2 separate regions of the Homo sapiens genome follow, and region 1 is linked to region 2. The links are contacts of gene promoters, found by promoter capture Hi-C in blood cells and fetal thymus (Javierre and others, 2016). All regions are on one chromosome and are shown on one strand. The core of a region is centred on a gene start or on the middle of the fragment in contact, and the rest is flanking DNA. Distances in the headings are between cores, read along the strand shown. Region 1 has its middle 14 kb from the start of LINC01617. Region 2 holds the start of PLAG1 (PLAG1 zinc finger).

Evidence for each region. Contacts are between HindIII fragments. The CHiCAGO score rates a contact against its expected background, and 5 or more counts as called.
Region 1: a contact is called between a fragment that was not itself captured here and the fragment with the promoter of PLAG1 in region 2, in 1 of 17 cell types (non-activated CD4 T cells). The highest score is 5.2, in non-activated CD4 T cells.

Annotation. Positions count from the first base shown.
Region 1 is chr8:73,890,897-73,896,015 of GRCh38, forward strand. No RefSeq gene overlaps it. Among named protein-coding and RNA genes, the nearest start is that of LINC01617, 14 kb to the left of the region's middle. RefSeq lists an enhancer at 2,315-2,394. The HindIII fragment of the contact is 572 bases long and covers 2,312-2,883 here.
Region 2 is chr8:56,208,315-56,213,956 of GRCh38, forward strand. PLAG1 (PLAG1 zinc finger) reads right to left here and starts at 2,959. Exons shown (of 5, transcript NM_002655.3): 1 at 2,807-2,959. It overlaps CHCHD7 (coiled-coil-helix-coiled-coil-helix domain containing 7), which reads left to right and starts at 3,475. Exons shown (of 4, transcript NM_001011671.3): 1 at 3,475-3,523. RefSeq lists silencers at 2,944-3,503, 3,346-3,571 and enhancers at 3,584-3,653, 5,224-5,642. The HindIII fragment of the contact is 9,849 bases long and covers 1-4,848 here.

The DNA of each region.
Region 1 (5,119 bases), core at 1,348-3,847, about 18 Mb after region 2:
GTGGTAACCTTTCAGAACTTCTGTGTCTGCAGTTCTCCAAAATAATATGCTAAACAAACAAACAAACAAAAAACAAAAACCACAGTCTATTTTAGGATGGCATATTCTGGTCTTCTACAGTCATATTTCAGAGTCAGGGTTTCTCCGTGTTGCCCAGACTGGTCTCGAACTTCCTAAGCTCAAGCAATCAGCCTGCCTAGGCCTCCCAAAGTGCTGGGATTACAGGCCTGAGCCACTGTCCCAGCCAATTATTTTATATTTAAAACAGTACAATGAAGTACATAAAATGATTTCCTTCTTACAAATAAGGAAACAGGCTTAGAGAGGCTAAATAATTTGCCAAAGTCACCCAGTTTATGAATAGAAAAATCCAAATTTTATCTTGGGAATTCTATTTTTTTTAATGTTGCTTTTTGTTTGTAATGATGTCCACACAAAGGATCTACCTTGGGAATTCTAACTCTAGGACTCTAAAAATCGAATTCTCCAACCAGTGCACATATTATCTTTCAGAATCCTTTCATTTAATGACCCATATCAATAGGTTTTAGAAAAAAAGTAATACTGATCAAGTTTATTCATTTTGAACTACAAAACTTAAGTTAAACTTAAGGTAGGATGGATTTTACGTTTTACCAAGGATATCTATGCCCCCAAATATATCTAATTGGTGAATTTTCAGTTCAACAAAATTCTTAAAAATGTAATTTTGTCCAACAAGCCTATATTGAATGCCAGACACTAGAGATATAGAGATGAATAAGATACAGTTCCTGCCCTCACATTGCTTATACTCAGGAAGATGGATCTAAGAAAGGATTTAACAGAATATGGGAAAAGTTACTTACTGGCTATGATGGAAGCAAACGGTAGGAGCATTTGACCCCACCTGGGAGCTAAGGACATGTGTCTGGAAGAGCCGACATCTGAGCAGAGGTGCAAAGGGGTACAGGAAAGGAATTGGGAGAGGAAACATAACTAGGTGATTGGTGTTTACAAGGGATGACAAACAGATTGGTATTGCCTAACAGAAATTGTAAAGACAGAGTGGAAGATGTGACCAAAGAGGCAAGTAAGACCAGGTCATGGAAGGTTTTATTTATTTAGCCTGTGACACAGCCTTGAGGTGATTCTCAGAACATGTGCCCTTCATGGAAGGTTCTGTTGGCTAATGAGGGGGCTGGACTTGATCTTAGAGATCATTTGGCACATTCGAGGTATTTCCAAATAGAAAGTGGTAAACCAGGCTGGGTGCAATGGCTCACGCCTGTAATCCCAGCACTTTGGGAGGCTGAGGAGTGTGGATCACCTGAGGTCAGGAGTTTGAGACCAGCCTGGCCAACATGGTGAAACCCCGTCTCTACTAAAACTACAAAAATTAGCCAGGCATAGTGGTGCGTGCCTGTAATCCCAGCTACTTGGGAGACTGAGGCAGGAGAATCGCTTGAACCCGGGAAGCGGAGGGTGCAGTGAGCCGAGATCATGCCACTGTATCCCAGCCTGGGCGACAGAGCGAGACTTCATCTCAAAAAACAAACAACAACAACAAAAACAAAAACAATAAACCAGACTTGTGTTTTAGAATGATTGTTCTAGTGGATGAACAGATTTGATCAGGTAAAGTCAGCAAAGAAAAATCAGGAAAGTAAGCTATTGCCAAGGAGTGAGAAAGTGAGGATGGACTAGGACATGTATGGAAAGGAAGGGAAGGGCTCTAGCGACAGGAGGGAGAGCAGACAGGACTGAGAGATCTGTTGTTTGTAGGGAAGGAGGAGGAGGAAAGAGTTGAGTGCTAGATTTCTGGTTTGAAAATAGAGGAGTTAGTAGAAATGGAGGCAATGAAAGTAGAAGAGGAAGAAAAAAGAATTCCCTTTTGGACATGTTTGAGATTTTCAAGTTTCCTATAGGTCATCTATTTCAGTCAGGTATTTTTCAAGTGTAAGTTGTAAAACCCATCTCAAATGAATTCAAATAGGGAGGGGAAAATAAATTCCTTAAGAAATTGTGGGAACAGAAGCTTAGCTGAAGTGGAGGGCCACTTTTTCTGTGTCTCTGTGTGAACAAAATAACCCCCAGTCTCCAGGCTCATATCCCTCCTACCAGCTCAGCAGCCCCAGGGATAGTTCTAGCTACAAAGATCTGATTGGCTTTAATCAGCTCCATCTCTCAACTAATCATCATAGTGATGAAGGAAGTGAGGTATTTACTCTGATTGGTTAGGTCTTGGCTGACTCTTACAGCATTGTGGCTGCAGTGTGGGGGTGGTCAGCCCCGCCCAGGTCACGTGTAACGAGACATCCCAGAAGGAAGAAGCTTCTTAAACTAAAATGGGAGGAGATAAGAGATGCCAGAGAAACATAAACTACAGATGTCCACTACTACAAGGAATATATTCAGTATATTCAGCAGACAATTCTACACCACAAGTTTCCGGCCCTTAAGCTGAGAGAAGGTGGGGAGAAACTCTCATTTAAGTAGAAGTTTTTGATTGTGATAACATTAGATGGCTTGAACATTTTAATGTCTGATAAGAGGCTGTTCTTGTGATAGAGGGACTAGAGCAGTTCTGGCAACTTTCTGAGATTTCATCCAGGGCAGAGAAAGCCCATCAAGCAGGTTTGAAAGGATAACAGGCAACAGCACCACATGGAGTCCAGCACATTCAGTAAAATGATTACATTTAAACCAGGAAAATAAAGAGATCACCCCAATACAGATTAGGAAAGAGAAGAACATGATGCTGAAGTCAGAAGCTAGGGGAACATGAGCATTTAGAAGCCAAAAAAAGGTCCTCAGGAATCAGTACTCAGTAGCGAGTACCATATTTTCTGTTGGAATGAGTTGTGGCGTGAACTGGTAACTGAAGAAATAGATACATCAAGAAGCTTAACTGAAGCCAGGTGCGGTGGCTCACACCTAAAATTCAACAGTTTAAGAAGCAGGGAGGGGGCAAGATGCAGTGGCTCACGTCTGTAATCCCAGCACTTTGGGAGGCCAAGGTGGACGGATCACTTGAGGTCAGGAGTTTGAGACCAGCCTGGCCAACATGGGGAAACCCCGTCTGTACTAAAACAGTACAAAAATTAGCTGGGCATGGTGGCGAGAGCCAGAAATCCCAGCTATGGGGGAGGCTAAGGCAGGAGAATCGCTTGAACCTGGGAGGCGGGGATTACAGTAGTGAGCGAGATCTTGCCACTGCACTCCAGCCTGGGCGACAGAGCAAGACTCTGTCTAAAAAAAGAGAAGAAGCAGCTGGGAGGGGAGGATTGGGATTGCTTGAGGCCAGGAGTTTGAGACCAGCCTAGGGAACACAGGGAGGGCCCCTCTCCCCATCTCTATCTACAACAAATAAAAAATTAGCTGGGCAAGGTGGTGCATACCTGTAGTCCTAGCTACTTTAAAGGCTAAGTTAGGAGGATCCCTTGAGCCTAGGCATTCAAGGCTGCAGTGAGCTAGGTTTGCACCAGGGCACCTCACTGCTCTCCAGCCCCGGCAACAGAGCAAGACTTTGTCTCAAAAAAAAAAAAAAAAAAGCTTAATCTGAGAAAAGAAAGTGGGAAATGAGATAAATGCAAAGTCAAGAGTAGGGAACAGTTTAGTTTTTTATTTGCTTATTTTAGAAAGAGATTTGAGCATTTTCATTGCCTAAAGAGAGTCTGAGAGGTCAAAGAATAAGGAGAGAGAGAAGTGTTTCAAAATGCTAGGAGTCTGAAGATGGAAGGCTGTGTGGGTGATGTACATTGGTTTTGAGGTGGAGGAAGACTCCTAATAGCTTTTTATGTTATAATACCATAGGACTGGGGGACATATTCTCCTATGATATGACATAGGAATTATAAAACCACAAGATAGACATGGTACGTCTCTGTAGAACAAGAATTTTACTGTTTGGTAAGTTATTTAAAACAGAGTGGGCCGGGCGCGGTGGCTCACTCCTGTAATCCCAGCACTTTGGGAGGCCGAGGCGGGCGGATCACAAGGTCAGGAGATCGAAACCATCCTGGCTAACACGGTGAAACCCCGTCTCTACTGAAAATACAAAAAAAAAAAAAAAAAAAAAAAAAAATTAGCCGGGCGCGGTAGCGGGTGCCTGTAGTCCCAGCTACTCGGGAGGCTGAGGCAGGAGAATGGCGCGAACCCGGGAGGCGGAGCTTGCTGCCGAGATCGCGCCACTGCACTCCAGCCTGGGGGACAGAGCGAGACTCCGTCTCAAACAAAAGAAAACAAAAAAACAGAGCGTTCTTCAGACTCTGGAATTCAAGTTCACACTCCAGTGGAAATTGAGAATCATTGAGGTAGATGTTAAACTTCATCATATTGCTTCCTTTTACTTAATTGGCTGTATCAAATGAAATGAAAAATAACAGTTTAAAAGGATTAGAGAAGCTGGCCTTGAAGAGGGATCTTACTGGCTGAAGATAAGTTTGAGCAACAAAATAAGGAATGTGACAAAATGAAACACATAACTATATACATAGACGTATCTATACATAATATAAATATGTATTGCACATAAAAGCAATGAGAGATTTAAAGAATAATAAGTTTGCAAACCCTAGTAAAATAATGGAGTCTGGCATTGATCTTCAATTCGTGTTAAAACCATTAGCTGAAAAGTTGAGGAAGAGTCTAATAATGGATGAATCACACGGACACACATAAATTTATTGATTAATTTTAATGTCAGTAAAAGTGGGACAGCCAGATATTATGTGCTTCCTGAAGGTGGTTAGGAAGTAATAGATTAAGCACTCTTACCAAAAGAATGTAATCAAGACCTATATCTCATGATCAGTCTATAGGAAATACAGAGTGAGTGAAGTGCAAAATAGAGGAACTTGTAAAACCACATCAAGAGGCTGCAAACAGCCAAAGTCAGATTATAGGAAATTCTACAGAACAAATGACTTAGTTTCTTCAATAAATGGTATAAAAGGGAGATCGAGGGAAACTCTCATAGATTAAAAGATACCCAAGAGACATATTAAACAAATGCAATATGTTAACCTCGTTTGGATCCTGACTCAAAGAACTAACTGTAAAAATACATTTTTAAAACAACAGGAGAAATTTTTTTTTTTTTTCTGAGATGGAGTCTCACTCTGTTACCCAGGCGAAG
Region 2 (5,642 bases), core at 1,709-4,208:
CTATTGATAGCTTAATCCTTTTCCAATCAATTTTGATTTAACTGTGGGTGATGAGATTAATCTTTTAATGAGTTCTTAGAAAGTTGTAATTGCTTCCAAAATCAGAAACCACAAGATGATGTACTCAAACACGTTACTGATGTGATGTTGTATAGAGGTATTTACAGAAAGTTGGAAGAACTCAGTTGTAAACACAAGTTAACATACAATAGACTACAAAAATAATAACTTGTTTATACAGTAGGGCAAGAAAAAACATTCTATATAAGAAGTCTAAAAATTCAGCTCTAATTTTAATCCATGTCTATAAATAATAAAAACAAGAGGAAATAAGGATTTATTTCAGAAACTCCATATACCTGTGGAAAATGGAACACAAGTAATTTCTACTGAAGATTAACCTTAATCCCCATTATAGTACAGCTAACAATTTACACATTTTAAATTTTGAAAATATCGTGGAAATCTAAAACATAAGAGCCGATAGTAGTTTATGGTCAGTAAACACTTTCTGTTAAATAACACAAATAAATTCAACTTAGAAAATGAAAACTCACAGGGCTCAGGATTTTAAAAATCTTTTCATTTCAAAGGCGCAAAGTTACAACCCATGCATAGGATGGACTTTAAAAATGGATGTGTAAACTTTTCCATGGTGTTGGTGTGTGTGCTTTCCTTCCCCCTAAAGAAATGCCTACTGCTTACAATTTTAAAGAATCTTCACCACTCTGTAATTTTCAACCAGAAGTCCTCAATGTACCTTAAGCCAAATTGAATATTAAGGTATTTTACAGTTTTTACAAAATGGCTGTAAAATCACATTATGGGCATACACAGCTCTTTGATCTCACTGCACAGAATTCATAACTGTTCAATAATGCTATACCATTACACCACACACCTTAAACTATTTCCATTTTTCCACAATTCCTTCCAAAATCAGCTTCCAAAGCAAAGCAATGTAACATGAAAAGTTCCTGGGAGGGCTTGTTACACAAAGGAACAGTTTGGATACAAACTATACACATATCCATCTTCGGTTGAGGCTGTTTATCCCTCCTGTCCCTCCATCACTCCTATGGGTGGGTGCACTGGAGTAACAGAAAGGGAAGGCTCTTCCATCACCACACCCTCCCAGCACCTCTGCTTTTGGTCCTCAGACAGTGATTCTGTGTAGGTGATGAAAACCATAAGAAAAGAGAAGCTGTCCCTTTAAAATGCCCTGCTCTGTCCCATATCCCACGTGGAACCAACATCAGCAGCACTTTCCCATTAACATCAATGTGATGCAAGAGACATCATCCTTTTATACACATAAAACCAGAAAACCTCAGCTTAACATTCTTTAGGAAGGATGAACAGGTGAAGCAAACATGTCAGGAAGGGGGAAACCAAGCAACTCCACATCCCTCCCCAAAAGGTACTCCAGCCTTGCACTCCAGCCTCTCTGAGCACCATCACCTCTCTATCCCTCCTCTGCAGAGCCCAGTTTAAAGAAAGGAGGGAGCCACTAACAAAACCTGAAGCATAAATGCGACGAAAATGCAATCTAAAGCCGGAAAGGTTCATTCTTCCAATCACACATATTAACTCTATTAAGAAAATGGCATCACTTTTTTTTCCACCCAAAAAAACCCCGCAAAGATCATTAAAAGAGAGTTATAAAATAGCAAATATAGTGTTTATCTTATCTGAGATCAGTCCACATTACCAATAAGTTTAGCAGTTTCTGCACTACCACCTCCCCCCTCGCTCCCCCTGCTTCTCTTGCATCGGATTTTCACGTTTTCTCATTGTCGGTTGAGTTATAAAAGGCTTTTGCCCTTCGAAAGTTTTAAAAAATAAATAAATATTAACTCCTTGGTCCCTGCAAAGTCAAAATGGACTTCAGGGGAAAGGCGGTACATACTTTTACCTTTAGCGAGAAAAGGGGGAGCATCCCGGATTTTTAGGGATTTTTTGCGATTTTTTAAAAATTTTTATTTGGTTATATGCCTGAGTTCTCCCTCCATTTTGGTTGTTTATGATACTGACAACAAGCTGTCCCTGCTCTGTGCCGATCTCCTGCTTTCATTTAGCACCCCCTCCCCCTACCCCCCCTCGCAGCCACACACCCCGGGCTCACACCTCCCTGCAGACCCCGCACCCCGACCCCGGCTTGCCCACCTGAGGAAAGGGCAAAAACAAATTCATTTCTCCAGAAAAGAAAAACCTCTTTTGAAAAAGGGGCAAAGTTACCCCAAGTCACTCAAAGTGCCCCCCAAATATTGCCGACTGCGGGTTTCCGCCAGGCCCTTTGGGAAGCGACCTTCCCCCGGGATGTTTTGGTGGAAAATGCGGAGAGTTTACTCTCAAAACTGAATTTATATTAATTTTTCCCTTATTTTTCGGGTCTCTAATGTCTTCCGCTCTCGCTGCTGCCGCTGCCGCTGTCACAATATTCACAGCACCAGAGAGGAGGAGGAGGAGGAGGAGGAGGAAAACTTTTCAAACTTTCCAGACCCTGAATAAAGGTTTTTTTTTTTTTCCCACCGACCTCACCTTCGGGTCCCCAGCCGCATCGCCCCCTGCCCTGTCAGAAGCGACTTCGGGAGTCCTCGCAGCCCCGCGTAATTATTTTATTTTATTTTTTATTATTATTTTTCTCTCTGGGGTCCTGAGCAGGGGCTGAGAGTAGCACAAACTTTTCCTCCTCCTGCCGCCGCCGCTGCTCCTCTGCCCCCTCGGCTAGTCCCATAATTTAAATAACCCTGATATTTCTCCCGCTAAACGCCTCGCCGCCGCCCCGGACCCCCGGAGAACTCACCGCGGGGCTTTAACATCCTCCCTCCGGCCCGTCCGCCGCCTCTACACCGCCCGCGGAATTTCTAATAATTTTTTTCTCATATTTCGGGCTGGACGCGGCGGGCCTGGAAATTGTTTCCTTACGCCTCTTTCCAGCAGCCATTGTAGTGTATGCGCTGCCCCTGCAGCCCAACTTGCAGCTGCCGCCGCCGCCGCCGCCGCCGCCGCCGACGTCGCGCCCACCGCTGCCTCCCCCTGCCTGTTCGGCCACCGCCCCCGCCTCCCGTCGGCCCGCCCCCAAACCCCGCCCGCCGCTGCGCCCGCCCCCCGCGCGCGCTCCGCCCGAGAGCTGGCCACTCGGAGCCGCCGCTGGCGGGAGTTGGCCCGCCCATTGGGCCGCGACGCCGCCCGTCAAGCCGAAGTGTTAAGAGACGGGCCGCGGCTGGGGGGCGCGGTGGGGCGGGGGAAGAGGGGGCGGGGTCGCGCTCACCGCCCCGCCCACTCCTCCCGCCTCGGCCCTCCTTTCGCCAGGCGGGGGCGGGGCGAGGCCCGACCGCCCCTGCGGCCCAGGGCCCCGCGCGGCTGTCAGTCTGGCGGCGGCGCGCGCCGATTGGGCGGGCTGCCGCCGGGGAGCGGGGGCAGCAAGTTGGGATGCGCGCTACTTAAGGTCCTGCTGCGTGAGCCATTGACGTGTTTGGAGCTGGAGACGGCCTGGGTGCTGGCGAAGCGGAGGCCGGAGGTGAGTGGTTCCCCCGCCCTACCTCCGAAGCGGCCGCAGAAAAGCGGGGAGAGAGGGGTGCCCTTGGGCCGTAGCGGGGCCCGAATGCACTTCTGCGGCGCGGAGGCGCTCCCGCCAGGCTTCGCCGCAGCGCGGACCTCTTCCCGTTGCTCTTCCTCCCGCCACACGGGTCTGTTCGCTCCGGGGGCGAGGAAGATGACCTCTGCCTAGTCCGGGCAACCCCAGCTCTTCTTCCACTCTCCTGTGTAGCCTCTGAAGCGCAGTTACCGGCCCCACCCCCAGTTCCCTGCGTTTTCCTCGCCCCTTGTCTCTCTCGGCATGGTCTCGGCACAGCAAGGTGTGTTCACCTGTGCGCGCCGTCCAGGATCAGATGCTGACGGGCTACACCGCGGAAGGCGGCGAGGCCTCGGGTTCGCCCTTCGTTTCTCCTTGCCCTGCGCGCCCACCTCCGGCAGGCCACCCTTGACTTCTTGCCCCCTTCCACTTTGCACCTGGCAGTGGGTTAACGGCACGGCGTGTGCAGCTTCCGGGTTTAGCAGAGCCGCGGACCCTGCCTGGGCTCCGACCACGGGGCGTGTGGGCATGAACGTGTTCAGAAACGTTTCCTTCCCCCTGCCCTTTCAAAGCTACTTAGAGAGGGGGGACGTGAACCACTGGATGGGAAATCAGGAACTGCTTTATTAAGCAGTTTGCCCTTTGGAGTGGATTTTAGAGTTATCCCCTGAATGTGCTATGGTTTTGTGGCCCCTCCTTCATATCTTTGCTTGGTTTTTCTTTCTGGTTATGCTCTGCAAGTAGTAGAGCCTTGTAACATTTATTTAGTACATTCAAAAAGTAATAGACAAGGCCCCTTTAGCGGAGCACTCGATGTTGTAATTCAGCCCCGCTCCTCACTGTAAATTGACATTTCCTCTTCAATTCCAGTTAATACACGAGGAACTCATGCAAAGGAGGGGACTTTCGGAAATCCAAACTTAGAGTGCCTTGTATTTAGAATCCGGAAGGAAAAGGAAATGAAATGTGAAGAAACTCATGCACCAAACTCGAACTGGGTATATGTGATGTTACCTAGGTATTATTTTTGAAGAATTTCTGACTGACAATAAAATATAGAGTAGGATACTTTCATGTAAGGCACGAAACTTAAATTTAATGCAAGGTTGTCTGATCCTTGTTGAGATTATTAAATCTAAGGTGTATGAAGAGTTCTGTGTTCTCACATCATAGGATAGGTGTAAAAAAGAAAGCTGTGAATTTATTTACTATCATCATCTCTCTTAGGAAGAAGGGAAGTGTGGAAAAAAATTGTCTTCAGGAGAGGAAGAAGCTTGTAGATATAATTGAACAGCATCTTGATTTCTTTTTTGCCAAGATGTTACTGTTGGCTGGTTATTTTCTTGTATTGTTCAATGAAAATCATAAAATTATTATTCAGTGATTACTTAATGGACACCAGAATAACCAAACCCTTTTCCATTCTTTTTTTTGCAAAGGCTGGTCTCCTTTGGCCTGGACGTCCTGATCTTTCCCATAGTAGAACTGGGCTGGGTGTCTCTTTTTTTTTTTTTTGAGACGGCGTCTTCCACTGCTGTCGCTTGGGCTGGAGTGCAGTGGCGCGATCTCGGCTCACTGCAACCTCTGCTTCCCAAGTTCAGGCGATTCTCTTGCCTCAGCCTCCTGAGTAGTTGGGATTACAGGCGCGTGCCACCACGCTCAGCTAATTTTTGTATTTTTAGTAGACAGGGGGTTTCACCATGTTGGCCAGGCTGGTCTTGAACTCCTGACCTCGTGATCCGCCCGACTCGGCCTCCTAAACTTTTGCAAAGCTGTATCTCTAGGAATTGAATTGGAAGATTACTGAAGCACAGTAGCATTCCCTGACTTCCTGCAACGCAGGGAAATAGTTAAAAAGAAGATGCCACTGGAAGTAAAATTTCAACTCTTTTGTTTTTGAAACAGTATAGCTTTTCATAATGTCAACTAAGCAATAACTTGGCTTTTTGGTGTGTTGGCTACCCTACTATTGGCCATAAAATAGGCACTCTGGTACTTCAGTTGATGAATGTTTTTGCTAAAGTTGGACTGTACCGAATTTCATTCTTATTTTGTACGCTAATTG